7 separate regions of the Homo sapiens genome follow, and regions 1, 2, 3, 4, 5 and 7 are each linked to region 6. The links are contacts of gene promoters, found by promoter capture Hi-C in blood cells and fetal thymus (Javierre and others, 2016). All regions are on one chromosome and are shown on one strand. Each heading gives the region's core, a stretch centred on a gene start or on the middle of the fragment in contact. The rest is flanking DNA. Distances are from core to core; before and after follow the strand shown. Region 1 overlaps RNLS (renalase, FAD dependent amine oxidase). Region 2 overlaps LOC101929727 (a long non-coding RNA gene). Region 3 overlaps RNLS (renalase, FAD dependent amine oxidase). Region 4 overlaps LOC101929727 (a long non-coding RNA gene). Region 5 overlaps LOC101929727 (a long non-coding RNA gene). Region 6 holds the start of KLLN (killin, p53 regulated DNA replication inhibitor). Region 7 overlaps RNLS (renalase, FAD dependent amine oxidase).

The links. The method cuts DNA at HindIII sites, captures the fragments that hold promoters and counts their contacts. A CHiCAGO score of 5 or more calls a contact.
Region 1: a fragment that was not itself captured here is called in contact with the fragment with the promoter of KLLN in region 6 in 1 of 17 cell types (naive B cells); the score reaches 5.8 in naive B cells.
Region 2: a fragment that was not itself captured here is called in contact with the fragment with the promoter of KLLN in region 6 in 1 of 17 cell types (naive CD8 T cells); the score reaches 5.5 in naive CD8 T cells.
Region 3: a contact is called between a fragment that was not itself captured here and the fragment with the promoter of KLLN in region 6, in 5 of 17 cell types (M2 macrophages, total B cells, M0 macrophages and 2 more). The highest score is 12.0, in M2 macrophages.
Region 4: a contact is called between a fragment that was not itself captured here and the fragment with the promoter of KLLN in region 6, in 2 of 17 cell types (total B cells and naive B cells). The highest score is 9.7, in total B cells.
Region 5: a contact is called between a fragment that was not itself captured here and the fragment with the promoter of KLLN in region 6, in 1 of 17 cell types (endothelial precursors). The highest score is 7.7, in endothelial precursors.
Region 7: a contact is called between a fragment that was not itself captured here and the fragment with the promoter of KLLN in region 6, in 1 of 17 cell types (total B cells). The highest score is 6.1, in total B cells.

What each region holds. Positions count from the first base shown.
Region 1 is chr10:88,289,873-88,293,164 of GRCh38, reverse strand. The region is part of intron 6 of RNLS (renalase, FAD dependent amine oxidase); the gene reads left to right. All of the region lies in intron 1 of LOC101929727 (a long non-coding RNA gene), which reads right to left. Among named protein-coding and RNA genes, the nearest start is that of RNLS, 290 kb to the left of the region's middle. The HindIII fragment of the contact is 3,051 bases long and covers 500-3,292 here.
Region 2 is chr10:88,265,991-88,269,718 of GRCh38, reverse strand. All of the region lies in intron 1 of LOC101929727 (a long non-coding RNA gene), which reads right to left. It also overlaps a transcript of RNLS not described here. Among named protein-coding and RNA genes, the nearest start is that of RNLS, 320 kb to the left of the region's middle. The HindIII fragment of the contact is 9,608 bases long and covers 1-3,728 here.
Region 3 is chr10:88,315,994-88,319,336 of GRCh38, reverse strand. All of the region lies in intron 5 of RNLS (renalase, FAD dependent amine oxidase), which reads left to right. The region is part of intron 1 of LOC101929727 (a long non-coding RNA gene); the gene reads right to left. Among named protein-coding and RNA genes, the nearest start is that of RNLS, 270 kb to the left of the region's middle. The HindIII fragment of the contact is 3,708 bases long and covers 1-3,343 here.
Region 4 is chr10:88,218,807-88,222,443 of GRCh38, reverse strand. The region is part of intron 1 of LOC101929727 (a long non-coding RNA gene); the gene reads right to left. It also overlaps a transcript of RNLS not described here. Among named protein-coding and RNA genes, the nearest start is that of PTEN, 360 kb to the right of the region's middle. The HindIII fragment of the contact is 156 bases long and covers 1,210-1,365 here.
Region 5 is chr10:88,242,970-88,246,313 of GRCh38, reverse strand. All of the region lies in intron 1 of LOC101929727 (a long non-coding RNA gene), which reads right to left. It also overlaps a transcript of RNLS not described here. Among named protein-coding and RNA genes, the nearest start is that of RNLS, 340 kb to the left of the region's middle. The HindIII fragment of the contact is 1,075 bases long and covers 1,228-2,302 here.
Region 6 is chr10:87,862,250-87,865,723 of GRCh38, reverse strand. KLLN (killin, p53 regulated DNA replication inhibitor) reads left to right here and starts at 2,191. Exons shown (of 1, transcript NM_001126049.2): 1 at 2,191-3,474. The coding sequence starts at 3,237. It overlaps MLDHR (mitochondrial lactate dehydrogenase regulator), which reads right to left and starts at 2,165. Exons shown (of 1, transcript NM_001433720.1): 1 at 2,070-2,165. The coding sequence starts at 2,165. The coding sequence ends at 2,070. It overlaps PTEN (phosphatase and tensin homolog), which reads right to left and starts at 2,099. Exons shown (of 9, transcript NM_000314.8): 1 at 1,176-2,099. The coding sequence starts at 1,254. RefSeq lists silencers at 1,805-1,944, 2,035-2,344 and enhancers at 2,945-3,124, 3,375-3,464. The HindIII fragment of the contact is 7,182 bases long and covers 1-3,474 here.
Region 7 is chr10:88,342,637-88,345,906 of GRCh38, reverse strand. The region is part of intron 5 of RNLS (renalase, FAD dependent amine oxidase); the gene reads left to right. All of the region lies in intron 1 of LOC101929727 (a long non-coding RNA gene), which reads right to left. Among named protein-coding and RNA genes, the nearest start is that of RNLS, 240 kb to the left of the region's middle. The HindIII fragment of the contact is 517 bases long and covers 1,652-2,168 here.

The sequences.
Region 1 (3,292 bases), core at 776-3,275, 430 kb before region 6:
AGTGTGCAACCAGTAAACAATAGCATTTCTCTGAATTCAGGAACAATTTAAGTAAAAAGTCACTGTCAGACATTGGAGTGGATGAAAATTTTTTTTTTGTTTCTTGTTATTTGTTTTGAGACAGAGTCTCACTCTGTCACCAGGCTGGAGTGCAATGGCATGATCTCAGCCCACTGCAACCTCCAACTCTGGTTCAAGCCATTCTCCTGCCTCAGCCTCCCAAGTAGCTGGGATTACAGGCACGTGCCACCACGCCCAGCTAATTTTTGTATTTTTTTTTTTCTAAGTAGAGACAGGGTTTCACCATGTTGGCCAGGATGGTCTCAATCTCCTGACCTCATGATCCACCCGTCTCAGCCTCCCAAAGTGCTGGGATTACAGGTGTGAGCCACCACGCTTGGCCGAAAATTGTTATTAAAAGATGCAGTGTGAGTATCAAAATACAAGGGATGGCTTAGACATCTCCATCTGCTGTCAAGGCTCATGCATACCAAAAGCTTATTAAAATGACCTGCAGGAAGGTAATATAACATAAGAAAGTGGTAAAATTATCTACAGTCTTTTGCAACTAGGTTTTTTTTTTTTTTTTAATGTGAGTTACCTTGTATGCAGTTGAGAAATAAGAGATCAGTATCAGGAGACTCATATTGGTTTCAAACTCATTTATATTTTGAAGTAATTGGAGTAAGTTTTCTTACAGGCAAAGATAAAGCCTTGCTAAATGTGAAGGTCTTAGGAATAAAAACTAAAAATCTACAAACATGCTTTCCTTTAGTGCAAATAGTGGCTGTTCCAATGGCTTAAAGAATTGCTGGTTTTCTACCATGTTAAGCTCTTTAGCAAAAGTGGAAGTCCAGATGGTGAAACCACAAAGATATTTCCCCTATATTAACATGACAGACTGATGAAAAAGGCAGCATCCTAGATCATATTTTCAATTTAGCTCAAAATGTTCTATTTTAGAAGCAACTGTCCTCCAAGACCCATATCTCAAAGGAGAAACACAAGCCCCAGGATCTAGGCTGCAAAGAGTGTACCACTGTAGCTAGATGCAGAAGCTGGAAGAATGTTAACTGTACTAGCCACTTTACTATGATGTTTATTGGTTTTGTTAGTGCTTGGTTCAAAGTTCCATAGGCTTTGAGTCATCTGCCCCCAAATCTGTTTTTTCCACAAGCCCTGATATTTTTAGCATACAATTTTGTAGAACTATGGTTGTAGCTAAAACGCCTGTATTTTATTTTCACACAGCAGCCAAAGCACCTGTGTGACCCAGAGAAGGGTAGTGTCCTGGAGAGGGGTCTTAGAAGGTTGTTAGAAGGAATTGTAATTGGGTTTGCAGCGGCATCTAGAGGAAATGGCTCCTGATGTGATCTGTTTCTTGGCATTAAAGGGTCTCTGGCTTGGAGAAAGGCAATGCATCAAGCTATAGTAATTTAATGGGAAAGGAGAGAAAAAAAACAGTAAAGAATATTTAGTTCCCTCATTTCTAATTATGTGTTCCTTCTGTAATCTTCTAATCCAGGGTTGGTATATAGAATTCCTCTCAAATGCCAACTCCAATTGACTGGTGGTGGCTGCCTGAGGCACGGAAGAGAGAAGGATGCTGAGGCCCTGTTGGGCTTCCTGGAAAGAATGCCACAATTGATTAGTGATGTCTGTCAGGAGTTGCTGCACCTGTGTCACCCCCATAATCTGTGATACAGTTGGGGAAATTTGCCCAGCAAGATGAATGATCTGGGAAGACAACCAGACTTGGTTCTGGAATTGGTACATTTACCTTCCTTTGAAAATGAACAAATGGATTCTTAGATAACCAGTATATCTCTGTCAGTTTCACCTGACGCTGCTCATTTGGGTGAGCTGAGAAAGTGGAGTGTTTAAACCAGCAATGCTAAAGACATTAGAAGTCCTAACAGCAACAATGCTACTTAACTGAAAAAGCACCGCTTAAAGGATCCTACCATTCATTATCTTTTGACTTGTCATGCATTGAGAAACTGTAGAGTATTTACTGTCCCTCTCCCCTCACCTTACTTAGTACTTGCCATATTTCTTCAACTATAAGATGCCACTCCATCAGTATACACCAGGAGATAGTCAAGATGTAGTTTTCACATGTGTGAACTTGGTTATTTCTGGTGCTCTTGGAGTGGGCAGCTGTAACTTCTTGATATTTAAACTAACAAATTACTTAAGAACAATTTGAGGAAAGAATATGAGGTCTAGTTGCTGTCTGAAAACCTTTCTTTCCCAGTGAAGAGAAAAAAGCATAATCCATACTTGGAGAACAGTGTCAGCAGCTCAGAAGAAAACCCAAGAAAAAATAATTCAGTGGAACATCCTTGTAAGAAATGCCACATTGCCAGTGTTTTAGACAGCACAGAGGACAGACTGCATAGGAAGTGCATGGATATCAGACATCAGCATGTCTGAGTTAAAGAGTGGTTCGGAGAAGTCCATCTCTAAATGCGAGCCTTTAGAATGGCTTCACCAATGTATTTCTCTTTTATTTCCTTTTTATGTTTGCAAAAGATACATGTAGATAAATCTGAAAGAACTTTTCTATTAAGTATAAAATAAAGTTTTGTGTCATGTTGACACCATTTTTTCTTTCTCATTGGTACATAAAATATTGTTGTGTTTTATGGTGCCTTAGATTCAATGAAATGTGGCATAATTTGCATTCATGGTGTAAGTGAGGAAATGTAGCAGGAAAAACTTGATTATTCATTGTCCAGTCTCCCTGATCACATTAGTTTCATATCTAGAATTAGAATTTATAAAACCTTAATTCTTGCCTACCCACTTGAATGTCACCTGTTGCCATGTTTCAGAAAGGTTTGTTTAAGTAACCAAATTATGGGCTGGATGGCTGAATAGGTCAGCCTAAAATAAAGCCACTCTATAGGCCAGACAAATGACTGTTCTCTATGGGGAAATGTCTCCTAGTCCAGGGACGCACTGTAGCTTTAGCATAGATATGAAAGGAAGAATGGACATTATTTGAATTATTTTGCAAATAATCAACTATCATTTTGTGAAAATACTCAGCCTACTTGTCTGCCTACCTCTTTCCTTTCATCTTTAATTTCATTTTCACACCAAAAGCACTTTTTTGTGTGAACTTTTACAATTAGTAATCATGATGCAAAGAAACTATTAGGCTGAACCATATACAAATTGACAATATTTTCCCATTTTTGACCGACGGAATCAGCAAGTTTATGTGGTTCAACTTAATACATGACAGGAGACAGTCATTAAAGCAGTGCACAGTCTGAGGCCAGAG
Region 2 (3,728 bases), core at 1,015-3,514, 400 kb before region 6:
CTCTAAGGCCCCCTCAAAGCAGTGTAAGCCATGGATAAAGGAGACTTCTCAGGCCCCTGTTGCCCAATTCTGAAACCCTTTTTTAAAATGCCCCTCAGACATCCATGACTTCTGTCTTTGGCCTGTTGTGGGGCAGTCACCCAAATAATGGATCAAGACCTTGTAAACCCAGAGCCTCCTGTTTCAGCAGGAGTCAGTTAGGCCAGGCCCTAGTTTGATGATGGGTAAGAATGACGGCTCAGACCTGCCTAATATAGCTGTCACTTTGGTTTTTCTGCCAAAGCATCAAGCAAGCAGTGAAAAAACATGAAATTAGGGAGGGAGGACTAATAAAATAGTTTCATGCATAGGACCTCAGCTTAGTATACTAGCCCTATTTACATATAGACAACCTATTCTCAGGAATCTCATTGTAAATACTCCTTGATTCAGAGAAGTATCAGTTCATATCCACTCCCTGTGAATGCCAAACCAGGGCCCTGTGTATGAAAATATTTTATTCAATCTCATGGTTGTCAAATATGTTTAAAAGTGGCCAAAGAAGTCTGAAAGATTTGATGCACCTGCATTTTGCATTATATTGCTTTCTCCCCAAAGAGGATATGTCTCTTTGAGTTTCACTGATCTTTATTATAGATTCCAGCAATTTTCTGACTCTAGTGAACATTTGTTGATTGTCCCCCTAACATCAGGGCTTAACAGCCTTTCTTTCCAGAGGTTTTATTTGAGTAGGCTTCCTTTCACTACCCTCAGTCCGTGTGGCCTGGGGTGGGGCAAGCCACCATGTGCTGGAGTGGTCAGAACCCCTAAGCCTGAGTTAGTCAGTGCTTCATGTTGTATTGGCCACACCAACTGGTTCAGAGGTAAAATAAACTTGAAATAAATTCATTCTGTCAGACTGGGACTCAGAACATTGCAAGAGTTTCCCACTGGACTTGAAGCAAAAGATCTGAGCCAAAGCTGCTGGTAGCCATGCCACTCTGTGGGGCAAGTCTAGAGCTGCCAGGGTCCCCATAGGAAGGTCAAGAATAAAGTTAACACAGAGGATGGGAGAGCCAAGAGATGGAGATAAACTGAGACCTGATGGCATCATTTGAGCTCTGAATTCAGCCCTGGCCTGTCTGCCTGTAGGAATCAATAAGTTCTTCTTTCGCTTAAGCCATCCTGATTCATTTTTGAAACTGTCATTCTAGTGAGAGAGATATACAGCATGCAGGGGCCATGGAATCAACCCCCCCACAGCCACCTCCCACATGGTCCTATTGCATGGTTTGGCCATGTCTAATCATTGGGAATTGTCTGTTCATTTGTTTTTCACCAATCTGGCATGGTAGCACATCTTTGAAGGTGAGGAGGGCATCGGGAAATATATGGAGAGCTTTCAAGTTTTTTCAATGACTGGGAAGTGGGGAACACAAGTGACATTTAATGGACACAGGCCAGGGATGCTAAATGGTCTTGAGAGGTATGGGACTATCCTGCCTAACACAAGATAGTCCACCCAAAATGCCAATAGCGCCACCATTGAGAAGCCTTCAGAGGGTGAGCTTGCATATTGAAATAACGCAACCCTGAACTATGGTAGGTCTGAAAAGAGATCCAATTAGTGATTATTTAATAGAAGAATCCATATGCAGTTCAAAATCTTTGAAAAGCGTAAAATAAAACCAAGTGTTGTCTCGAATACCTTCTTTGAGCACTGCCAAAATTCACAGAACCTTTCTGTTTATGAAAAAATCTTACACCAACGTTTCTCCCCTATAAGGCTGTAGAATTTAATTTTCTTACCAAGATATTTAAAATCAAAATTTCTCTGGGAACAGCACAGCCATGGCAGGCTCTCTTCCCTTCTGTGGCCTCTGAGACCTTTAAGAAGACACTGAATCACATGACTTCTCAACTTCCACATCCAAATTCTCTATTCCTCACTTCTTCCTCCTTTCTGAGCCTTTCTGCCATTGGCCATCTTTTTAAAAATGCACCCTAACTCAAAATGGGAAGGTCTGACTTTATTGTTCAGATGTGCTCAATTTGTAGGTTTTGTGTTCTCCTGGTTAGACTTAAAGTATGTATTGGTGGTATTTTCATCCAGGAGTCCAACCACTCCTTGACAGGGGGTAGTTGTTTGTTTTGTTCTGTTTCTAGAGACAGGGTCTCACTCTGTTGCCCAAGCTGGAGCACAGTGGTGTGATTGTAGCTCACTGCGCCTTGAAATCCTGGACTCAAGCAATCCTCTTGCCTCAGCCTCCTGGGTAGCAAGGACTATAGATTTGCGCCACCATACTCAGCTAATTTTTTCCCCTTTGGTGAAGAGGGGGTCTCGCTATGTTGCCCAGGCTGGTCTCAAACTCTGGGATCAAGCAATCCTCCTGACTGAGCCTCCCAAAGTGCTGTGATTGCAGATGTGAGCCACTGTGCCCAGCCTCCTTTTGCTTTATAGCATCTCTTATATATTGCTTCCTGGGTTTGCAGCAATGTGAGCTCAAACATCTGACAAGATGCTAGAGTCTTCACCCTGGGAGATTTGTAATTCACTAAAACTAGAATTTATGGTGTATTAATTTGGGTCCTCTGCAAAACAGACACAAAGACCAAATTAGAAGGAAAATGCCTATGAAAGATAAAGGGTACAGGGAACAGGAGTAGGCAGGGACAGCTTTCAGACAGTGACACAGGTCTGACACCTGCACTGGGAGACAAAGAAGGAGGGAAGGAGGACTGGCTATGAAGACCAAAGACAACGATTCAAATTTGAGATGACCTCAGCCTGGCCACTGCAGATCCCCAGAGCAAAGATTGACTGTTAGAGGAAGAAAATGGCCCAGCTTTTGTGCTCTGATAGCAGCTGACACCAGCAGCCAGCTACCTTTCTCACAGCAGGTTCTCTTAAAGGGAGAATCTGAGTGATGTACATGCTGGCAGCCATGCATGATGACTTTTTTTTTTAAGTAGAAGTTGTTTGGCATTTGTGGTGTGTGTGGGGTGTGTGTGTGTGTGTGTGTGTGTGTGTGTGTGTGTGTGTGTATTTAAAAGAAAAGAGATTGCCTTGGAAGTAGGAGTCTGAACTGTGACATGATAAAAACAATGCAAACCACAATAGAATATTTCTGTTTGCAAGACCAAGTCCCACCCACAACTTCTAGACTGTTGGCTTGGTCAAAAGAGAATAATTCTACACTTTACAAAGCAATGGGATTAGAAATGAAAATCAGCCAAGGCAAAGTATACTGAGACTGCTGGGCATCCAACATCCTGTGTTAGTTGTAAAGGGGGAAAAGCCCTCTGTTTTGGCCAGGAATCAGGGGAGTTATTTTAGGAGCAGCCTCCCCAGTGACCCAGACATTACCATTTGATTTCCAAAGCTCTAAAGAACGTAAGCCTTGAGAGCATTTTTCCACTGCCCTATGTTTCTTTCTCCATAGGGCTTTTTGCACAAATCTGCTGTAAATCCAGCATTCATCTTCTCAGGGGAGCCTGTGGAGAAGTGAATCATTGTTATTAGAGTGGGTGAGCCTGCCTAGAAGTGACTGGCCTGCCCATCCTAAGGACCTCCTGGCTTAGCATCACGTGACTAGCCAGCCTGGTAAAAAAGCACTCAGAATTTACCCATATGCATCAAATTTTACCAGCCCATCTTCTGCCAATAAAGTGCCCTAGATAAAAAAGCCCAGGAAATTACAGTCACTTCTACAATCCTTATGACATTTTCTAGGTGAATTTCTCTAATG
Region 3 (3,343 bases), core at 290-2,789, 450 kb before region 6:
CTTCTCATATGAGGGATCTGTCACGTTTATTTTTTAATTTTCTGTCCTTTTGATAGGACTTTTACATTTTGTAATTCTTTTTTATCTTGAGGGTATGTTGTATGTTGTGTATGATCATTTGGCCTCCTTTCCAGGTGCTTTCAGAGGACCAAGGTGCTGTATGGGTCCTTCATTGTGGGTAGCTTTTGTGTGGTGGCTTTCTCGGATGCTGCTTGTTGTAGCAATATATTTGACATATGAGCTAACACTCTATCTACTGCTTGGCTGAGGGTATGGAAGTCTCATCACATACACTAGCACTCAGCCCTTCTGGCAGCAGGTGTTTTATTTGGTGGTGGAGTTCAAGCTCTAGTCCAGTAGGTGGCACTTAAGAGTAAGAGCTGGCCCACCCACAGGTAGATTGATGATGAGCGGAAGCACCTGCCCTGATATAGAGGGGAGGAGATTTTGTTGGAGCATGCTGAGGTCTTTGGGGAAGGAGCAGTTGGGGAAGTGCACCAGCTCCTCATCCTGACCAGGCAGGAATGCCAGCTGCTTCCCCTATCACACCATGTCACAGGGCTCCCAGCCTTCAGTTCATAAAGACTTTTTCCTTTGGTTCCCAGCTGCAATGTGGCTATGGGCTACTGATATACCATTTTGGCAGCTACCACCAAGATGGTCTTGGGGCAGAGCCCCTTCCCCCAGTCCAGAGCAGACAACTCTGTGGCTTGTCTGTGTCCTCCATTGCCAGGATGCTGCTGTTTTGTGTAGGGTCAGGGAGTTGGGCCCTGCCCTTTGTGCAAGCCCAAGCAGCATGGGCTCACTTTCAGCGAGTGTGGATTCACTACAAAAAGTGTGATAAGTGCTTTCTCCAGGTGCACATATACCAGCCCCCAGCCAGAAGAACCACTACTGCATCCTCAACAGTGGCTAAAGGTGGCAAGGGGTGGATGACTCCCTCTCCACAACCCTTCCTAGCCATCAGTGCTACCCCCTTCACCGATTGGTGCCACTTCCTTCATTTCCTTTGTCCCAAGGGAGACTTTAGTGGGCTGTGCTCCCCATTGCCTTCAGGGCAGCCCACCAAGGGTGAGATCTCCAGGGCTCCCACAGCTCCACAGGGACCCAACAGCCCCATGTTTGCCAGAGACAGAATGGGTTGTGGGGTATGTTTGTGGGGAATCTCGTGGTGTGGTGACTCAAGGGCAGAGATTCCCTGGGCAGGGCAGTGTCCCACCACAGGTGCACAACCAGCATGGCTCAGTTCAGCCATGTCAGTTCAGGTCTGAGGGGAGTGTAGGCATGCTTAACATGAGCTGGCCACCTGGTTCTTTGCCCCTGGAAAATTCCCCCAAGTCACCACTGACAGCATTGCCCGTGATCCAGAGGGCAGAGGGGCTCCCCAACAGTTTGACAGTCAGTGAATTGTTGCAGGGGTGAAGGGAGCAGAGAAGCACACCCACTACCCCTTAGCACAGGGTTCTGAGTTCCTCAGGGGTCAATCTCTGCCAGACCCTTGCTGCTTTTTTTTTCTGCATCTCAGCTTTTTCCCCTGGGCACTCTGTCAGGTCCTGGATCTCTTCTGTAAGTTTTGCATTTGGAACTTGTCCATTCACAGATAACTTTGATCTTTCTGAAAAGAGCTGGCATCTGATGTCACTAGACAGGCATCTTGAAAACCAGCAGCTTGATGGTGACTGTTATAGAACAAAGTGAACATACTCAATGCTACTGAACTGTATATGTAAAATAGGTTAAAACAGTAAATTTTATGTATATTTTACGAAACACACACAAAAAAATCAAATCCTGCTCTGCCTATACCCAGGAATAGTCTTCCATTGTCGCTGGGGTGTTGATGTAATGATCAGTCTTAATGCTTTGAGAGAAGTCAATTCTGTTATCCCTTTCTAAAGCTGCTCTTTCAACAGTGGAGAGGTGGAAACAAGAATATTACCTAGGAATGCCTTCTGTTTGTGTAGCACTTTATGTTTGAAGGAAGGCTTTTATGTGAGTAATTCATTTAATCCTCATGGCAGCCTTGTAAGGTCAGTAGTGTTGCTCCCTTTTAATTGATGGAAAAAAGTGAAGCCTGAGAGATTAAGTTGTCCAAGATTACAGGGCTATTAAAGGATGCAGAGGTTCAAATACTTATCTTCTGACTCTATAGCCATTGATTTCCCAAAGTAGAGAAATAATTGTCAACTTACTGTGAGCTTTACATTTAAAATGCCAAAAGCTAGGTGATATTCTTGTTAAACTGAATAAAGAAAAGAAAAAGAAAAATAGCATCATTAACTTCCCCGTGACCAAGGAATAATGATTATGCTGAATTTATGCTCTAGATCCTATTAACATATTTGTGGCTTTTTATACTGCTCTATTTTCAAACTTTGATCACGTTTAAATTCTGCTTGACTCTTTGTATTTTTAGACTTTAGCTTCTGAAAACACACTCTGATTTAGGGTTGGGGGAGCTTTTCCCCAAAACTTACTGTTTTCAGTCATAGCTATTCAAATTTTCATCTAAATTTTCAAAATAAATGTACAATTCAAATAAAAATAAGTAGGCAGGTTGTTCTCTCATTGTTATGCGAGAACTATTTCACTTTAGGTCTTAAATTTCATGTTTTATTGCTCTCCGTGGAGTGGATGGTTAATGTAAATGGGAGAAACCTGGCATCACACCATCACTGGTCTTAGTGACTTTACGAGTTTCCCCTGGAACAAATAGCTGGGTCAGTGCAACCTCCCAATTCTCAGCATGCAGCTAGCATTCATTTTCCTTTGAAGCCTGACATAGATAAGTCAACTCAGAGCCCCAACTTCCCTGCTTCAGAATGCTGACCTAGTAGTTTTCTCTGTTGCTGGGAAGATGTGGTACTGTATGGAAGAGGGGTGGCATTGATACCCCGTCACTGTGAACAAGCCTCCCTGAGTTTATTAACTGATAACATAAATAAAACTTCCTAAGGCAATATGCAATAGATTTCTCACTGTGGTGGTATTCTGTGAAAGAAATTGAGATTTTCCACTCCTGAGTCCTTCCCTCTGTACAGAACCTGTAAAGTCTTCACTGACAGGTTACACATTGAACATTCAAAGAGATGGCCCCTCTATTTCCTCTTTCAAGTTGTTCCAGCTACTGTGAGGTGAAAATACTGTACAGCCCAGCTTACCATTGCATTTACTGCACAAATTCTGAATTCAGGTCCCTCACCTCGTATATGTGAAACTCCTTGGAAGCATTCACTTCACTTTAAAAAGTTTGCAGCATGTTGGGACTCTCTTCTCTTGTGTTTTGCCATAAAATTCATAAACCAGGGTTCCTTGTGCTGAGTGCAAAGGAAAAATGAAGTAC
Region 4 (3,637 bases), core at 38-2,537, 360 kb before region 6:
TTAGTTGTGGGACCAGGCTGTGAATTCAAATGATAACTAGAGCCTCCTCCCAGACTCCAAGGAGTTTATAATCTACCAGGAGGTTTGTATATCACATCCTACTAGCCATAACACAGAATGACATGTCCCAGCCTAGTGCTGTGGGATGAGGGAACTCAGATGTGGGTTGGATTATTTCTGCCTGTTTCTATTAGGACAGCTTCCAAGGTGGGTTGAATCCTAGGACGAGCCAAGCTGACCAGACTTCCCTTGTCACAATCCACTTGAATCTACCCACCAGAATTTTAGATATAATTCCTGCCACAGTTTTCAGTAGCCACATAAGCCTATGTGTCAGTGAAATGGAGGCAAACAAAAATAATAATTAAAAAACCCAACCCCTCAGCTGAGTGGTAAAATACTTAATGCTTAATGATAGTACAAACTATCTACCACCCAACTTTCCATCCAGCATGCATTCACCTCAGGCAGCTCATAAAAGCTGAGACCCTGGAGATCATCTAGTTCAATTATAACAAATAGATTTCATTTCATGTGTCTACTCCAGTCTACTGAGAGCGGATTTGCTGCTGGAACACTGGGCTTAGAGGCATGCTGAGGCCGTCAGAAATCAAAGGAAAAAAAAAAGTGCCACAATTGATTAGTGATGTCTGACATGGGCTCAGGAGTGGAGAATGATGACACATGTGCAACACATACACCAGACACAATCTGATCCAACTTGCTTGTTTTACAGAAGAGGAAACAGTACTCCAAAATGGAAGATTGTGTGCCCAAAATCGCTTTGCAGGTTAGTGGCAGAGTTACTTGATTCCCTGTTAAGTGATAATTGATGCTCACAGGATCAGCAGCAAAACCAGCAAGAAAATTACATTATGCTTAGTACAGTATTTGTGTTAAGTGTATTTTATTCTGATTCCTTGAAAGCTGCTGATCCATGTAATGTAACTCCATTCATTGGAATATTTGATTATTCAGAGCATTCTCTGACTTGGCTGCATAATGGGAAATAACCATCCCCCAGGCAAGAAGCAGTTTATTCTAGAAAAAAGAAAAGACGACAGTTCAAGGTCTACATTCATTTTCAAAAGGACCAGTGACAAACATTTATATAAGTGGTACTGCTGACCAGTTTGACCTAAGCTTGTCAGTAAAACTTGACAAAATGAAAGGCATTTGAAGGAATGATGGCTCTCTAAACAGCAAGCTTGGCTAGGCTAAACCTTGGTGGCCAGATTTCTTCATCTCTAAACATTCTTGAAGTATGAGCTCTTCAAGATGTGAGCCCCGAGGGACAAGTGGGACTGCAAAGGTAGAGAGGAAGAAAGGAGGGCATGCCAAGTAGGGGGATGCATATACAAAGCTTCCCGGTCTGAAGGAGTGCAGCCCTTTGATGGGAGCAGGTGGAGTCTTGGGAGCACTTGAGAAGCAAATGCACCAGAGTGGAAAGAGCCTGGATTAGGCACTTAGACGACCTCAAACTCAATCCGAACTCTGTCACTTGCTAGCTGCAGAATCCCAACACAGGTTTCCTTGCAACCTCTCTGGGTCTCAGTTTCCTCATCACAAACAAAAGACAACACCACCTATCTTTCAGAAGGATGCTGTCAAAATTGAATGAGATAATTATGTCAAACACCCATACATGATAACTGGCATTTAGTAGGTGCTCAACACATGGTCAGGTCCAGTCATGAATAAACATGCTGTCTTAGTATATTTTGTAGTAAAAACAATACTAGGGCAGGAGCGAGAAGCCCTGAGTTCTGGTCCCAGCTCTATTACAAATGCACTGGAGTCCTTGGACCCTCTGCCTTGCACACTGCCAGCATTAAATAAATATTTACAGAATGAATAAATACACGAATAAGAAAATCCAAGAAAGATTTTACGTAAACTTGTTAGGCTCCAGTTTTCTCATCTATCAAAGGAAGACTGGCTTCTCAGATGTCATTTAATAATAAAGTTATTTTGATATCTGTATTTCATGCAGCTGAAAGCATCCACTATAATTTGAGCACTGTCTTGGGCATGAGACCGAAGTGCCAGGGAAGTTCATAGAATGCAGCCCTGACCCCAGCAGTCCCTTGGCTTAATGGCACCTGAAGTCTTGACCCTGCCCACCCCAAAATCCTAAAATGCTTTGCTCCTTCTTCGAGCTGACTCCAAGCAAAGGAAAGCAGATTTCAAAACAAAGTATATAGCCGTGGGTGGAATTGAGGGCTGGGGATGTGTTTCTGCCACAACTCATTCATATGAACTACTGGCACCAGCATTGTCCTCTTTCTGGATTTTCAGCCTCCTCAACTGTGAATCGGGAACTGCTAATTAGAGGGTTTATGCTTCTCAGTCACCAAGAAAGTCAGAATGCCCTGTCCACCCTTGGCCCTTCACTGCAGATGGACACCAGCTTGTTCAGTGGGAAGGGAGTAGCAGGGAAGGTGTGCTGAGCCATCAGGGTACCAGCTCAGCTCAGGGACCGTCACACTTTTCCTGGTTTCCCATTCCCCAGAGGAGATTCCCCTGAAGGGTGGGCTCAGATCCCAGAAGGGGGCAAAGGAGCTCAGGAGCAGGGGGACAGTAACATTCATAAGAGGAGAGTTCAAAAGGAAATAGCACAAGCTGGAAGTAATTGATGTGTCTTTAATGCTTTAAATATGCCTGCTTTTGTTTATTTTTTTAAATCTCAACAAGTCACAGACACTGAATGGTAAATTAGAGTTCTATTCCTCCCTTTTGGTACTCCCCCTTAAGAGGAGCTTTTATATGGCTTTTAAAGATAAAACTTCAGAAGGCCCTAGGTCTGTGCCCAGGAGTCAGGTAAAGCAACCATATGACTAAGGGAGGGAAGCAGCAAAGACTGGCTGATGTGCCCTTCCTGAAAATGAGGTAGAAACCGGGAAGTACAATTAGGTAGAAACCAACAGTTAAGTTTGCTGGGAGTTGATGAAAGCAAGAAGTCACAGGACCAGAGAAGTCAGGGGAGCTGTTTGTAATTCACATGAGTGCTAATAGGAAATCACTGTAGGTTTCTAAGCAGAGTAGGAACATTAGGAAAATTCTATTGATGAAAGATATTTCTAGTACCTCTTTTTGCACAGATGAGAATAAATGGTAGGAAGGGCATGTTGACCTACTAAATAGATCATATTTAGACTTGGAAATAGCAATGATGAGGCTAGGCTGTGATTTTTCTAACCTGTGATTTACTCAAATAACAAAGATGTTTTGAGTGCCATGCAATATCATTTAGTTATGTAACCATTTACTCAACAAATAATTATTAAATACTTACTATGTGGTCATCCCTCTTGGAGATACAAAAGAGGAAGAAATTCATGGTCTCATCAGCATAAGTGTATACAAATATGTTAAAAAGAAAAATACAAAATAGGACACAATTAGTTACCCAAGAAGTAGTGCAAATACTGGATGATATAAACAATCTGTTGAAAAATTCCTTGAGAGCTGGGGATGTCTGGATAGGGCAGGTAAATGACAGGTGGGGGCAGGTGGTTGAGGCAAAGAAGTATTCCAGGCTGTGGGAAAAGTTTGGCAAAGATTTGGAGGGAAGCATGAGGAGAGTATTGAAGGCTCTTGAGGGTGGGGCCTGTCTGAGATGAAAGTATTCAAATGC
Region 5 (3,344 bases), core at 516-3,015, 380 kb before region 6:
GATTGGATTTGGAAAGTCAGATGAGTCTCCAAGGGAAAGGGACTAGTTCTGAGCTGTTGCACTTAGAATATTTTTGAGCCCCAGAGCAGATATTTATGAGAAGGGAGAGTTGTTTTTGTCTCAAATCCAGGTTCTGACTCTGATGTGTAGTGAGGAAGCCGCTTTGCACTGCAGACCTGAAGTCCCGGAATATCCATGATGTCACCTTTTTCTACTGATCTGCCTGCCACTGCACAGAGGCACGCTATTAGCTCTGTGATGTTTTAGCTTAATTCTCCCACATGTGGGTTGCAATTCTAGCCAAAACAAAGTCGGCAGGAGATTTTATAGCCACTGAATTGCTCAAGGTGCTACAGGCTCAGTGAAATCAGGAAATTAGGTTGGGATGCATGAACAAAAAGATAAACAGAAAGAAAAAGCATCAGGATGGTGGGATTCGAGGTTGCCTGTTACGTGATTTCCAAATCAGGAATCAAGCCTTCGGTTTTGCAATGGGTGATTTGATGCTCTGGGTTTTCACCTTTGAGATTTTAATGCTTTTCTGGCATATATGATAGAAGAAAGCACCCTGTTCCAGGTGGTGAACCAGAAGTCCCTCTCACTAAATTAGAAAGGAGACATTTTAGGATATGAGATCATGAAATAGAATAGTATTTGAAAAGAAAAAAAAATGAAAAGAAAAAGAAAAGAAAATCACATATATGCAATAACACACAACTAGCCCAGCACAGGGTGAATTTGTGGTTAAGCCATTTTTTTCCCATTGCAGATGATACTTTAACTCTTTGAATCTCAGAGTCCTCCTGCACACATGCAGCATGAAAAGACGTTTCTGCGGCTGCCATCATAAAGCCAAGCTGTACCTCAGGTTGAATTAGGAAGGTCCGGGGTTCTGTTAGTGTTCTGATTCTGAGACTGCAGCTCTTTGCCTGAGATCATTCTGCCTAGCTCTCCTCTCCCTGCCAGCGCCTTAATAACGTAAGCCCAAGACCCTTGCTCTCAGATCTTTTGAACGAACAATGGTGCTGGGCAATCACACCATAAAGGACTATTTGTGATCATTAGGGAGAAAAGGGAGGGGGGTAAAATGTTATGCTAATCAAAAGCAACAACTGTTATTTCTTCTTCAGTGCTCTTCACAAAAGTCACATGGATGATGGTAAATCTTCGAGCTGATGCCAGATAAACTCTGAAATTTTAAAGTATTTGTTTCATATGGGCAAAGCTTTTCCTTTTTTTCCCCTTTTTTTCTTCTCTCCCTTTACCCTGTGGGAAAATGAACTTATTTTCAGTCACCCCTGACATCTGACCACTCAACTGATCACGAGGACACTGTGGCAAACCACAACTCAACTTGAAATTGTCTCTTTTAGGCTCGGTTCCTGTACTTTGGATGGCACCATCCTTGCTACCCAGCATTAGCTTTTTTTCTATGGAGGTTCCATTTTTACTTTCTTCCATTTACTCAAAGTAAGTGGTCTTGCTGTAAAGTCTCTCAGTTGGGCTTGTCCTCAAAATAAACTGAATGCAAAAATGACACCAACTTTTCAGCCAAAACCCCAAAAGTGGCCCATTTACACAGTGTGTCCTTCTTTTAAAAAGAAAGAAAGAAAAAAAAAAAAGCATGAAAACCTTAAACATCCTGCAAAGGGGGAAGGAAAAGCCAAGTCTCTTGATTAATATCGAGATGATACAGCAGGGTTTATACATATTCCTTCTGTTTGAATCATCTTGTTTTTTGTAGCTGTTTTACACCTCCAGGATCCTGCCATCTGCCCACTCTAAAGAAACACAGCAAAGCAGTCCAAAAACAATGGCTGGAAGGAAATCATTGTGATCTAACTCAAGAGATCAACTTGTCTGCACCCTTTCGGTTACTGCTACTCTTCCTGGAGAGAATACAGTGTGGTGTGGCCCAGAGGTTCATATTATGGGGGGGCGTTGCCTCCTAATAAGCCCCCCGGTGCCTGTCACACCATCGGCTGACAAGACAGAACATGGTGTACGGATCTGGCTGCCCTCCTGGCTGAGGAACAAGGAGGAGGAGGGAGTGGGCAGCGCCCTGGGCAGTTATGTCCTACTCATATCTGGTGTGTGTCACTGGAATATAGGTCAGCATTTGCTGTACAACTTGGGGCAGGCTGGAAGCATGCAGACCCCGGATTGGGCCCAGGAACCCCCACCCCCACTCTCTTCTTGCCTAAAACAAGTTAACAAGCCCGAAGAGCATTGAGAGAAGCCATCAGGACAGAGGAAACCAGCCTTTCCATTTTGCACGCAAATGCTGGGGAAATCTAAAGCTTAGCAAAGGCGTTATCAGTCCTGGGGTTGGGCCAAGATGCAGGCTGAAGTTCAGCTGGCCAGGCCAAACGCAGCTGCTGGCTATTCAGGCTTCCCACAGGGACTTTTCCTCAACTCCTGATTTAGATAGTGAAATGGATGGGTAATGTGTACATAGCTGCCAAGGGTGATAGGAGAAACAAAATGACTTTCAGTTACTGAGTAGTTCAGGTGGAGGCAGAGAACACAGAAAAGGTTTTCTTTCCAACAGCAAAGTGAAGTGTCCGTTAAAGAGCTGCTGGCCTTGCAGGGAGATTATTACTTTAAAGGAATATCGGCAAATGCTTTAGGCTGAACATTTGGGCTTGCTTACTTCCGTTTTTCCCCGCAGTTCATAGAGGGATAAAGATATTACATGAATTGGATTTTTCTTGTGAATTAAAATATCGATGCCCTGATTTTTGGTAACGAATGTTGCCAAGTTTGTGCTGAGCAGACAGAAAGGAGGAATAGGACTAAGGCTTTGCCTTTGGGGAAATGCAAAAAGGGTTCACAAAAAAATGTCCCATTGATTGTCCAAGGTCACTGGACTATGCATGCTCAAAATGGAACTCAAGACTCCCAAACTGCAGTGTCTGACTCATTGTCCTTTGACTAAACCAATGAAAATAAAATGGGTTAGCACAGAGTATTGTTCCAGGACAAAAAGTTCAGAAAGCCAGCAGAGCTTCAGGGAAAATGGGATTTTCTTTAATTAAGCTGACATTGAATGCCTCAGTAATAATCTTGTAAATTTGAATTTATCATCTGCAAAGTAGGCATATTTGTGATTTCCTAGCATGCAAGTTAACTTAAAATTTAGTGAGTATCCCTTATGTTCCTGGCACTGTGCGAGGCATTTTCCCACACATTATATGATTTAATCCTCACAAGGATCTAGAGAGTCAGATATTATTATCACTGTTTTACTGATGAGACTTAAACTGATCAATGTTCCGCTTGAAGTCTAACTGTGGAGCTGGTATCCAAACCCAGGTTTCCTCACTCCCTTATGGGTTTGTTTG
Region 6 (3,474 bases), core at 942-3,441:
ACTAAAGCTACACACTGTTAAAATTCTTGGGCTTCTGTCTTATTCAGCAAGCTGACTCAGTAAATTTAATACACTGTATGAAAAAAGCTAACATACCTACAATCTAAAGCTGGAGTAAACCCCTCTTGCCAGCATTTCTAGATATTAGCTGGTAAAATACAACTGACATTCTACACAAATCAGTAAAATTAACGATACCAAAAGGTGTCAGAGGACCTGAAACCTAAAAACGGTGAGCAGCAATTCTGGCATCACAACAATACTTAAATTTCAAGCATGAACTGAAGTTTTATTTCTGCAATCTTCACTTGCTACACACAATACCCTTGAACCTACACATTACCATCTGGGATCAGAAACTACTCAATATCCATTCTATGTTTATGACAAGAGCACTGAACATTAAATGCTACTGAAGTGCAAATTTCAAGCACTATCCTACATCACCCCATAGGGAGAGAAAAAGGTAAATATAACAAAGATCTAGTAAGAACGCCTTATAAGGTATATTATGGCACTATTGACTTCAAACTACAAAACTTCTACATACAGTTCAAAGTTGTAGGTAACTTAAGTTTAAACATTAACAAAACTACTTTTTGCCCTCAATGTGCACCATATATACTGAAAATGATTCTGCTTCTAAAGTTATGCAAATCAGTCATATTTTAAAAGAATCTATCAATGCAACTCAGGAAACTAAAACAATCACTGCAAGATTCTGATGCAATATGCGTACGTGCAACACTAATTTTCATTTTATTCTGATCTAAACCCTTGATCTAGGGCCTAAGCCAAGATTTAATCGAAATATGCTCAACCTCAAAAAGCGTCTACTTTTTTGTTCATTTAGGAGACCGGATTACCGAGCTCGCTAATCCACTAACAGTGTACTGTATTCTGTATTAACGGACAATAGCCCTCAGGAAGAGACCATATAGATAGCCTAAGAAAGCAATCGGTGGCTTGACACTTGCAACCAGGCAAGAGTTCCGTCTAGCCAAACACACCCTAGGTTGAATACACAGAAAGGAAACACAAAATATATGACCTAGCAACCTGACCAGGGTTAAATGTTATAGTCACCCAAACTACGGACATTTTCGCATCCGTCTACTCCCACGTTCTAAGAGAGTGACAGAAAGGTAAAGAGGAGCAGCCGCAGAAATGGATACAGGTCAAGTCTAAGTCGAATCCATCCTCTTGATATCTCCTTTTGTTTCTGCTAACGATCTCTTTGATGATGGCTGTCATGTCTGGGAGCCTGTGGCTGAAGAAAAAGGAGGAGAGAGATGGCAGAAGCTGCTGGTGGCGGGGCTTCTTCTGCAGGATGGAAATGGCTCTGGACTTGGCGGTAGCTGATGCCCCTCGCTCTGCCGCCGCTTGGCTCTGGACCGCAGCCGGGTAATGGCTGCTGCGGCGGCTGCTGGATGGTTGCAGCGACTGGGCCTGCTTCTCCTCAGCAGCCAGAGGCCTGGCAGCGGCGGCAGCGGAATGGGGAGAAGACGAATAATCCTCCGAACGGCTGCCTCCGCCGGCGGCCTCCGGAGCCCGGGCCACGGGGGGTGCGGCGGCGGCGCACGGGAGGTTTAAAACCGGCCCGGGTCCCTGGATGTGCCAGCCGCCGCCGCCGCCGTGTTGGAGGCAGTAGAAGGGGAGAGACCAACTCTCCGGCGTTCCCAGCCCTGGAAATGGTGACAGGCGACTCAGACCCCCTCCCTGGAGCTGCAGCCGCCGCGGCCGCCGCCGCCGCCGCTTCTCCCCCCCGCTCCAGGAGCGGGAGGTGCCGCCGCCGCCGCCGCGCCTCAGCCGGCTCCCGCCCGAGCCCACGGCTTCCACCTTCCCTTTCAGGAGAAGCCGAGGAAGAGGCTGCACGGTTAGAAAAGACGAAGAGGAGGCGAGAAACGCCGCCGCTGCCGCCGCCGCAGGCCGGCCGGCTCCCCGAGGGCGCTGCCCCCGCGGCTGCTCACAGGCGCTGAGAGGGGCTCCGGGCCGCGGCCGCCGCCGTCTCTCATCTCCCTCGCCTGAGCCCGGCCTCGCCTCACAGCGGCTCAACTCTCAAACTTCCATCATGGCTGCAGCTTCCGAGAGGAGAGAACTGAGCGCAGTCGCGTCCCAGCGCCGAGCGCGTATCCTGCCGCAGCGCATAAAGAGTCCCGCCACATCACCGCCCGCCGGCCTGCCCGCCCCCTCCGCCGCCGCGCCGGGAGCCCGGGCGCCTCGGAAGACCGAGGGGAGGCGGGAGGCGAGCGAGAGGCGGACGGGACCGCGCCGGGCGAGGGGAGGGCAGGGCAGGGCAGGGGGCGGTAGGAGGGGGCAGAGCGGTAGCTCTGGGTGCGAGCGCAGAGTCCCCAAGCCGCAGGCTCTACTGAGCATGCCCAGTGTAGCTGCCTGGGGCTTGCTCGGGCCGGTTCCCAGCCGCCAGCCTGCAGCTGCACTTGCTGCGGCTTTTGCAGCAACGCGAGGCGAGGATAACGAGCTAAGCCTCGGCCTCTGCCCAGAAACCCAGCCGGAGGCAGGGTAGGCTGTTGTGGGGCGGGGGTGGAGGACTGATGATGAAAGCTGAGATGGGTGCGTTGAGCAGTGTCACTGACTCGAGTCTGAGGTTACCTGTGCACAGGTGAAAAGGACCAGGTGACCACGCTGCTCAGTGTAGAGGGAAATGCAGGGACGGTCCCTGCAAGGGGAATACCCTCCCCCCTTGCCTCTACCCCTAGATTTCCGCGGCGTGGACTGCATTCGCTCTTTCCTTTTGCACCGCTGTCGGATCACAATCGTTCGCAGAGATTTGACTGTAACAGCCTTTGCCTAGAGATTCCCCCTTCCCCCAAATCTGTGTCCTCATGGTGTCAGTCTTAGCACAAAGAGCAACCTGCTATTGTGTCGCCAGCGTGTATCACCTCATCCGGCTCCCTTGCAGCGCCCCACCTCTCGCTTCCCCGGTAACTCGGCTCGTTTGCCCTAAAAATGAAAGCTCTCAGCCGAGCGTGCTGAACGTGAACACATAGCCGTTGAATTTCAAGGGCCCAAAGGGCACCTATCTAAATGAACTGAAAGAGGATCCCTGTGAGTGGGACGCACCCCGCAGGCCTCTCCTGCGCCCGCTCCGGTGCCCCCAAGAGAGTCGAGCATCTTTCCCCTCGGGCTCCAGGTCGGTTCGCGGCGTCGGAGTCAAGCTCGGTTCTCAGAGACCACCTAGCCCCGCCCCCCCTTGGCCGCCGTGAAAACCCGGCAGGATGGATCGCCCGGGGCCAGGCTCCGCGCGCCCCGGCCGGACCGTGCACGTTTGGGGTTACCGGGTTGAGTGGAAAGTACGGAACGGTAGGAAGCTGCAGCCCAGCGAGTGGGCGGGGCGAGGAGACCTAGGAGGGTTCAAAAGGAGGTGGAAGGATACACGGGCCACAGTCGGAACTACTTTCCGAAGGAGGTCACGTGTGTCCCTAGTTGGGGAACTTTCCAAATTCCCACTCCCCA
Region 7 (3,270 bases), core at 661-3,160, 480 kb before region 6:
CACAGACCTATTTTCATACTGTAACTCAGCACTTAGAATTAGGTTGAAGCATATGATATTGCTGTCTTTATAGATTAAAAATGGTCCAATATCAGCATTTTCATGTGATTCAACCTAATAGCTCTGTGATCATGATTAATCTTCTTAATCTCTCTGAGCTTCACTTACTTACCTGAACTGTAACTATAATGGCTCCCAGAAATGTTATAAAGATTGAATGAGATAGTATATCCAAAACTTCTAATATCATGCCTGGCACATAGGTGCATAGTAAATGCCAACTTTATAATTGTTGTCACATACAAATTATTTTATGGTTTTGGTCCATTAGTTATATAAATTTTTATTTTGAGAGACAGAAGAGAGAATGACACACTAATAGTGCAGGTTTAGTTAAAAATCACCCTTTGTTAAAAATAATACTTATACTTACACATTAGGAAGGCTAAACAATATCTTATTACCTGAATAAGTTATTAAACTCAGAGAACATGAAGTTAGATGCAGTTCTTTTTATGGGATGTCAAATCATTTTTTGAATAAGAATTTTTCCAAAAAAAATTTACACTACAAATAGTCTGAGAAGACTAAGCACTGTGAAGTAAATCGTTAGCAAATCAAAGAGCTGAGACTAATTCAAGAGCAGGTTTCGAAGTCTGACTGCAGAATCTCACCACAGGAAATCACTTCATTGCGTTTCATAAATACTTTATATCAGTTAGCATTTTTAACTCTGTTCAGAATCACCAATCCATCTTTTTGCCCAGATGTGACATTATTGAGTAAATTGAGCCTAAAGAGTCCTTTGGTTTATTACCAGTAAATTTCTTGTTATTAAGTGAGCTGAGAAGGCTTTTATATGCCCTCTAAAATCGTATGTGGGCCCTGCTATTTTTAATTGTCATTGCCCCTACAGATTCCATATATGTGCTCATTTATATAATGAGAAGAATCCATATGTACTGTACAGGACATTGAATTCCCTGCATAATATGAATGAATATTAAGCACTGGAATCAGAAAAGAATCTCTTGAAATTCCATTAATATTTATAACTGATCTGTGGGACTAGGGGAATTCTTTAGTATAAAATATTCCAAATTCATGTTTGTAAAAAATGAAGCATCCTTGAATTTAAAATATAGTTTTCCTCACTAAAATAGATTTCTATTATAAATATAGCAAGTGAATTCTTGCTGTTGTTATATATCCTTACATTATTTAACAGAGTCAGGAAAGGCACTTTAGAACCTTGAGGTCAGTTGAACCTAATTCACTCTTTTTTATTAAAAATAAAATGCCTATTTGTTTACTGTATTCATAATAGTAGTTTCTCGGGAGTGGCTAACAATATCATAAAGATTATAGTCCCTCTGATTTAAGAGCTTTTGCCAAAATACCCAGATCCAATCGTTGTTTTTCCTGTCAAAATATAACAGGAAGAGTAACTCCATTTGTCTTATTAGGAAAGAAGATAAGAATGTCCACAGTAAACCAGTAGATTTCCTCCACAAAAGGAGCCAGGAATATTTTGACACTATCATAAATAAAAATTTCACCATCTGCTTAGTCTCAATTTTTCAAATTCAGCATTTTATAATGTCAAGGCAAAAACTTCTCTTTACTAAACCAAATGGATGACAGCAAAGCTTTAGGTCAAATCCCCCAGCCCTGAGATGTATTTTGCTCATTTGAGCAGCTACAAATCTAAAGCTGAACCCAATTATGCAACTGCAGTGATAAAGTGATATCCTTAGAGGCAAACCAGTATGCTGGCTCAAGGGGAAAACCTTGCCCAATTCAGGAAAATAGTCCAATCATAATACCACTTAACACAAAATTTCATAGAGGGCATAATGCTGAGTAGGCCAAAATAACAATGTATAATAAGGGGTGGCTGCATACTGCTGGTGAGTATTGGGAAAGTGGAGCATTTTAGTGGACTGTCATCATAGAAAACCAGGGCTTTTTTAGGCATTGTGGAAGGAGAACTCCAGTGAGAGCCTGGAAAACCAAATGTGAGTTAGGACAAATCCTCTGCTCCAGGGACGTTTCAATTAAAGGACTATTGAAACCCTTTCGTTTTTCCTTTTGGCAGTGCAAATAAAAGCTGCAACAGACTGAAAATCTCCTTGTGTCCCAGGATAAATAGATGTTTTCATGAAGCTTGGGAGGTGTCGGCCAAAGAAAATCTTCTCCCAAACAGATCCTGAAATATATGCAGTCTCACTAAATGTGGCCTTTTCTTTGAATGGACAGAATCTATGGAATTTTTAAAGGAACGAATACAAGGAAAATAGAGGAAAATTATCCCAGCCCTGGACAGAAAGTAGAATTCAGAATATATTTTTGAGAGTTGTTTTACTCCTTTTTTGTTGTTTTTGGAAAATATATATATATGTTAAGATCAAACTTACGTTCATCACTGGCTCTTGATTGCCTACTTTCATTATTCTGAACTTTTTCCTCCCCCATCTTTCCCATTTTTGAAAATGGAGCCACCAATCTCCTAGCTTTTTTGGGCAAAAATCCGAAATCATCCTTGATATTTTCCACTCCTGCACCACAATATGCAATCTGAAACCAAATCGTATTGATATTTTTTTCAAAAATAGACTTTGAATTCACTTCTCTTCATCGTCACTGTCACTGTCAAGACACTGTCTTATTTTAACTGGCTTTTCCATCCTTGCCCCTTTCCAGTTCATTCTTCAAATAACCAGAATGGTTTTCTTAGAGCACACATCTGTTCATGCCACTCACTTTCCTGTTCAAAGCCCTTTAATGCCTTCCCTTTGCACATGAGATTAAATCTCACATCCTTAACATGGCTGGCAAGGTCCTGAATGATCTAGTACAGGGGTCAGCAGATGTTTTATAAAGGCCAGATACTTTAGACTTTGCAAGCCATACAGTCTGTTGCAGCTACTCAAATCTACTGATGTAACCCAAGCAATAGACATATAAAAGAATGGGCGTGGCTGTGTTCTAATAAAACTTTATTTACAAACACAAGTGGCAGGCCAGATTTGGCCTGAAGCCCATAGTTTGCCAACCCCTGATCTCACTATCTCCTCACTCCTTAGCTCTCCAGTCACACCTCTCTTTCCTCCCATACTTTTTTCCACCTCGAGACCTTTGTCTATTCTGTTCTCTACCTAGACTGTCTCAGTTTAAATGTCCTTTCCACAGAGGGCATTCCTGAAGTCCTAATTTAATTAAAATGGTTTCTCTATTTTATTTTTATGATTTATTTTATACTTATATTTT